Linked DNA regions of Homo sapiens: region 1 is linked to region 2. Evidence: promoter capture Hi-C in 16 types of primary human blood cells and fetal thymus (Javierre and others, 2016). All regions are on one chromosome and are shown on one strand. The core of a region is centred on a gene start or on the middle of the fragment in contact, and the rest is flanking DNA. Distances in the headings are between cores, read along the strand shown.

Region 1 (3,101 bases), core at 602-3,101, 830 kb before region 2:
GGGCCCGCCTCTGGAGCCAGCGCCCAGGGTCCCTCTGTGCTTTTTCGCTTTCCTAAGCTCCTGTCGCTCCTCTTTGTCCCCTCAGTTTATGTCCTCCTGTGCTCACCTCCCTGACCTCTGTGACCTTGCACTCCCCTGGCCTGAAGCTGCCTCTCTGCGCGCTTTCTACTGGGCTCGTCTCTTTCCGGAGCCCCAGCGTCTCCTGCCCAAATTCACCGCGGAAAGGGCCCGGGGCGGAGGTGCGACCGGGCGTCGGCAGCGCAGACCTCTTGGCCTTCTCTCACAGGTCGGTGCGCTCGCTCTCCGCGTTCCCCGCCCGACTGCCGTGCAGTCCATGGCTAGACGCGCCGGACAGGACTGATGGCGGGACCGCGCTGCCCGAGAAAGGGACGGACCAATACGTGTGTTTGCTCCGCGAACCCTCTTGAAGCTGTTCAGAAGCCGCTTGCCGCGGGGCCCACTAGGCGGGGCGGGGGTTGGGACCCAGCGGGAGCCGGGGCAGCCTGGCTCCACGGCCTGTACTCGGTTTACACCGCGGGCGGGCGCGGAGGGAGGCTGCGTTTCCTCCGCTATCAGTCCCGTCGCTTCGGGCACCTCCGGGCCCCGGCGGCTGGCTAATGTTTTGTTTGAAAGATCGGTGGAACTTTTTAAGAGAGTATTTAAAAAAAAAAAAAGGAAAAAAAATTCACCGGGCAACCGGGGAAGTATTGTGGCCTTGGAGTTTGCTAAATCCAAATATGAAAATCAAAAGCTTTAGTATTCCTCATCTTCTCTTCTGGAAGATTTGCGTTAGAGTTTTTGTTGGGCCTTCAAAAAGCTGTGTTCAGAGTTAGGAGAATATATCCAATAAAAGATGGTTTCGTCTACCAATTGGGGAAGTTTCACCCTCTCCCTATCTGAAGAAAAAAATCAAAAACAAATGTCCCCGGATCTTTCGATGCAAGTCCTGGAGGCAGGGAGATCACTGCCTGCCTGGCCCACGCTGCTGGGACGGCTCGTCCTCCCTGCTTTTTGTTTTTCAAACCTCCTGCTTCTCCCACCTTGGGAAGGAGAAATGTGAAACCCGGCAGCGGCCGACCTAGGCGGTCTTGTGGCCCGGAGCCGGCCCGGCCCGAAAACCATAGACCTGGTTGTACTGTAGCTTGTTGTTTGGGGGACCAAATTTTCTAGAGAGAACTAGAGCACTTTTGTTGTGTTTTTTTGTTTTGTTTTTGTTTTTTGCCTTGTCGATTCCCGAATAAATTTTGTGTTCCTTCTTTTAACACGGACTTCTTTATTTCTGTCGCTCCTTAGTTCAGCAGCTAGTTAAAAGAGGAAGATTTTCAGCAAAATTTTATCTTTTTCAGAATGAGTTAAACAAAGATTGAGAGCAACCGGGGTGGCAGGCGTTTGTGGCTGTCGCTGCTGCTTTGTTTTCCTGGGATTGTTTGTTTTCTGTGTCATCACTGGCCCGTTGCGGCTGTTTAACGTCAGCAGAAAGACTTTTTCTGCCGTGGTTCGTTCACAAGGCGCGACTGTAGGTAGGACTTGGTTTATTTTTGTACCTATTCAAGTTTGTATTCTACCTCATACACAGTTGTACTAGGTGTATGGGCTGGCTGTGTTTTTATTATTGTTCTCAAACTTTTCGATTTTGAGTCAACTATAACAGCCAAGAGTTTGTTCCAAACATTAATAGATAAAATTCTGGTTGTGGAAATGCGCTGCAAACTGCTAACCTCTGTACAAATGTGAGAAGTGACTGCTTTATTATTTTTAATAGTCAGAATTCATTTACCTTGAGATATGGGTAGGAGATTTGGAGGTTTCAGTAAGGATTGAACATACTTCGCGGCTGCAGAAATTTAGTCTTTTTTCTTTCTCTCTCTTCCTTTACTGAGATCCCCAAATAACGAATTAAGATCCATGCTTCCGCGCAGGCACACAGGCGTTTGACCTGGTTGCAGTCTGGTTCTCCCAGGCGGATTAGGGGGTGGTCGGCTTTCACTCTTCTGATGGGATAGATGACTTCCGACTTCTGATAGGATAGATCCGCCGGTTCTTGCGGGCTGCTGCTCAGCTGAGACTAGACCCCGCACCCAGCCCTCACTGCCCCCCCCCCGTCTATCTCGGGGCCTGGCCAGCAATGTGGCGGCAGGTCCAGGCCGGCTGGTGGGCCAGGAGCGGTTTTGCGCCACGGGAATGAGCCTGCAGGCCTCTCACTTCAGCCCTCCAGTGGTCAGGCGGTAGGAACCTCAGGGTGGTATCCTGTTATGTATAGTTGGGCCCAAGTGGCTTCTGCTCAGAATGCCCCCCGCCCCCCACAGGCATCCTGCGAGAGGCTACAAGGCAGGAGACCAAGCCACGGGGATTCTCAGGGGGCATCACCTCAAGACTGGGACTGGAGCTTACCAGGAACCGGCAGGAGCAGGATGGAGAGGGAGGCTCAGCTGGAGCAGGAAGCCCTAGAGGCTGGTCAGGCCTGGTGTCTGGGTGCCTTTGGTGCCCGGCTGCTCCACTATCTGGCTAAGGGGAGTTGCAGAACAGAAAGCAGCCTGCTGTGTGCATGTCTGTTTGTGCTTTGTCTAGCGTGAAAATTTAGCCCATGGGCAAGTAATTGTGTAGTCTGTATCTGCTGCAAATGTGTGTGTACAGTGTCAGTTGTGTATTGGTGACAGGGTGGGAGGTGTGTGTGTCTGTCATTCGCCTGCAGAGTGGGCATATATTTTTGGCATTGTAATAATCATATGGCTAACACTTAGGAAGTGCTTACTGGGACCACAGTGTGTGTGGCATTCATACCTCATTGGTGATGTGTGCATTTGTGGGTGTGTATTCCTGGCTTGCTGAAAAATAAAGTAATATGGACAGAGCCTTTGCTTCATCAGGCAGAGGCTCCCTGTTCTGAAGCTGGCTGTCAGCACTCCCCCAACTGCCGTCTCAAGCAGAGAAAGCAAGGGAGGGAAGCTTCCAGGACCAAGCCCTGGTGGGCAGGTAGCAGCCCACCTCCAGTGAGACGGAGAAGTTGGCCGGGGCCAGCAATGAAGGACCAGCCTGTCTCCTCCCCGAGAACTGAAAGGCAAAAGGCACCCAAGGCTGGGAAGAGAGCAGCAGCCTCACCA
Region 2 (3,599 bases), core at 90-2,589:
CAGTTTCCCTGCAAGTCCTTGACAACGCTTGTTCCCATACACATTTGCTTTGGCTGCCTCAAAATGTAGAGCTTGGCAGATTGAGATTGTGGTGGGACGAAAGCCTTTGAAATGGAAAAAAGAGAAAGAGGGAGGGAGAAGAGTTGCGGAGTGGAGAGAGAGAGAGTGTGTGTGAAAAGGAGCTTTTTTCCCACTCTTCCCTGACCCTCATGGGGGCTGCAGCGACTCCTAGAACCTTCAAGCAGCGAGACAGAGGTTCCCTCCACCAGGCGCAGAGCTCTCCTTACACCTGGCCTCCTATTCCCAGCAACTTTAAGGAGATATTTTTAAGTGGCCATGGTTTTATCAAATGCCTATTAAGTTTTTGCCACAAAAGGATTTTATTTAAAATAAAAATAGGGGTAGGTATTTGACTGATGCCCCTTGTGAGTGCTCTAGAGAAGAGGAATGAATACTGACATGTCCTATCTTCCCAGATGCAGAATTGTAAAACAAACATAACTGCTTTTCACATGTGAAAGAAAACTGGCTTAGAACATACTAGCGTTTTCTTTGCCATGAAGGAGTTCACCTTCAGTGACTAAGCCAGAACTACTAGAGTTGCCGGGCCTAGGGACAGGAGACATTGCCAGTGCTTAGCCAGGCTGGCCAGGACTAACCATCTCTGCAAGGAGTCCACAAGAAGCCTCAGGGCAGCCTTTCCCTGCTCCTATCAATTTGAGTTGAGCAACAAACATTTTGACCAAATATCAGCTCTATGGCACAACTCACAGTTACGGTGCCCACAAAACGGAATCTCAGCAAAGCAACTACTACTATGGGAAGAGATCAGGGACTAATATCAGGAGAAAAAATAAGTTTTTCAGTCCTGGGTTTCCAAGTTGGCATCCCCAGGGCAAACCAGCAGGTTGGGAGGGTAGGGGGTGGTGGGTGGGGGCTGCGGAGGGAAGGTGGCTGCTGTCTGTCTGATCAGACCTGGGGCACACCCAAAGAACTCTCCTAGCTTGGGATCCGGTCAGGAAGAAACCAGGACGGTCCCTTTAGGAGGGTGGGCAGGGCTATCTGCCCGGGGGGTGCGGCCGCCCCTGCACAGCAGGCTATCGATTGTACCGGAGGCAGGGTGTGGGGAAACCGGGGCAAGTCCAGCCTCTCAGCAAGGCCAGGAAGCCATTCACTTGGATCCTGGATTTTACTAACGGATTAAACGTGGCATTCCCGCCTTCCCCCATCCGTTACAGACCTAAAAATAGCTCGTCCGAGAGGGGCCGGGAGAGGCTCCACCTCTTCTTGAGGTGGGGCGGGGCGGCTGTAGTAGGAGCTGGAGGCACCAGAGACCCCAAGCCACGAGCTGACCGACGCACCGAGGAGCTCTCTGTCCGCGGTCCCGCAGGTTGGCGGCACTGGAGTGGGCCGGGCAGGCTCTGCCTCCGCCGCAGAGAGCGCCCGGACTGCGTGGGGCTGGGGAAGCATCCCGGGAACGGCGGGCGGTGAGCATTCCGGGAACCATCTCTGGGCTGTCTGGGGCGGTGGAGCAAGTCTGGAGGCGGGACGTGGGGCGAGTATGGGAGCCGCCACCTCGAGACGTCTTCCCGCCGTCCCCGGCTCCAGGAGACCCCACGGTGAGCGGGCCGCGCGGGAAAACTATGCCAGGAATTCGTCCCGGGAGCGGGGCGGGTGGGTAGCTTGGCTGCAGTCCGAGGGATCAGCGATTCGGGAGGTTAAACATTAGCGGGGGCGAACTCCCTGCCGGGGTGCAGCGGGGCGCGGGAGGAGCCGGCTGCGTGCGTCCGCGCTGCCCAGGGCGCGCCCTTCTGGCCCGGCGCGGCCCTGCAGCCCGGCCCCCTCGGCCTGCTCCGAACTGCGGCGCCCAGGGAGGGAAGGACCCGTGCGCGGGGGACGAATGACGGGATGCCCCAAGACTCGGCTTCACTGGGAAGACGGCCTTGGGTTTTTACTTTTTGAAAAAAGAAAAGTGATTTGGGAGGGCTTGATGATCTGAGTGCCGTAGGTAAAGGAGGATTCTTTTAGTAATGAGGTGATTTAAAAGCAATCGCATTGGCATCTTTCGTTCCCCTTCTTCCTTTCCTGGGCTGGACCTCAGCAGGAGGCAGACGTGGTATTTTCATCCTGAGGTGGCTGCGCATAAAGTCCACCGAAGACCTGCTCAGTGCAGGACAGGGATCAGGAGGCAGGGCAGAGGAGGGGGTCCGAGGCTGCCTGGGCAGGGCCTAGTTCACGGAGCACTTCCTAGGGGCCCAGGGCCTAGGCTGCCCCTGCCTGGTCTCCTGGAATTCGATTTCTAACAGGACTTTGGAGAGAGGCCTGGGAAGTATGGGGTGTTCTGACTTGGCTTCTCACACCCTCATCTGCAGATAGGGTGGGTGATCTCTCCCTTCTCAGTTGCAGCCCCTAGCACCTCTCCTCCCCCTCCCGGATGTGAGGACTGGCCAGTGAGAACAATCCTGCTTAGGGAAGGCTGATCCTCCAGTCTAGTGGCTGATAAGGGGCCTTCTGACTGTCTTGGTCAGACACCTCCCTCATCTGGGAATATTTTTTGATACTATCTAACTTGATAAAATACCTCATGAAGTTGTATGCTTCAGGTTGGGAACAGAAACCTGAGTTCATGTGGGCACCATAACTGTGGGTTGTGCCATGGAGCTGATATTTGGTCAAAGGTTTTTTGCTCAACTCAAATTGATAGGAGCAGGGAAAGGCTGCCCTGAGGCTTCTTGTGGACTCCTTGCAGAGATGGTTAGTCCTGGCCAGCCTGGCTAAGCACTGGCAATGTCTCCTGTCCCTAGGCCTGGCAGCTCTAGTAGTTCTGGCTTAGTCACTGAAGGTGAACTCCTTCATGGCAAAGAAAACGCTAGTATGTTCTAAGCCAGTTTTCTTTTACATGTGAAAAGCAATTATGTTTGTTTGTTTTACAATTCTGCATCTGGGAAGATAGGACATGTCAGTATTCATTCCTCTTCTCTAAAACACTCCCAAGAGACATCAGTCAAATACCTACCCCTATTTTTATTTTAAATAAAATCCGTTTGTGGCAAAAACTTAATAGGCTTTTGATAAAACCATGGCCACTTAAAAATATCTCCTTAAAGTTGCTGGGAATAGGAGGCCAGGTGTAAGGAGAGCGCTGTGCCCGGTTGAGGGGACCTTTGTCTCGCTGCTTGAAGGTTCTAGGAGTCGCTGCAGCCCCCATGAGGGTCAGGGAAGAGTGGAAAAGGAGAACACCATGGAATCTGAGAATAAGGCTAAGCTCTGCAGTGGCAGTACTTCAGGAGAGCTCCCAGGTCCCTGTCATCTCTGTTGAGGTCTCTGGAGCTCCCTTGCATACTGTGTGTGCATAGCCTGTTTGCAAACTGTGTGAAGGTTTCCTTGGCAGCCACAACAATTAGCATTAATGACACGCCTGAGCTCCCCCAGTGGGCACTGCTGAAGTTAGCTTGGGAGCCAGGGCAGGTTTGTAAATGATTGCCTGGCAGCCACCTTGGAAACTTGGCTCCCTCAAGTTCTCCTCTTGACTGCATTCTTGAGGAAGCAGAAGAGACAGTAAAGTGGTGATGTTGTTGTTGTTGTCTAGCTGTCAGTTT

Evidence for each region. The method cuts DNA at HindIII sites, captures the fragments that hold promoters and counts their contacts. A CHiCAGO score of 5 or more calls a contact.
Region 1: a contact is called between a fragment that was not itself captured here and the fragment with the promoter of DZIP1L in region 2, in 1 of 17 cell types (M0 macrophages). The highest score is 5.2, in M0 macrophages.

The regions. Positions count from the first base shown.
Region 1 is chr3:138,942,385-138,945,485 of GRCh38, reverse strand. It overlaps FOXL2 (forkhead box L2), which reads left to right. Exons shown (of 1, transcript NM_023067.4): 1 at 1-1,262. LINC01391 (long intergenic non-protein coding RNA 1391) reads left to right here and starts at 1,466. Exons shown (of 3, transcript NR_121649.1): 1 at 1,466-1,520; 2 at 2,868-3,101. RefSeq lists an enhancer at 374-963. The HindIII fragment of the contact is 2,195 bases long and covers 754-2,948 here.
Region 2 is chr3:138,113,348-138,116,946 of GRCh38, reverse strand. DZIP1L (DAZ interacting zinc finger protein 1 like) reads left to right here and starts at 1,339. Exons shown (of 16, transcript NM_173543.3): 1 at 1,339-1,619. RefSeq lists enhancers at 1,027-1,526, 1,527-2,028 and a silencer at 1,685-1,904. The HindIII fragment of the contact is 15,110 bases long and covers 1-3,599 here.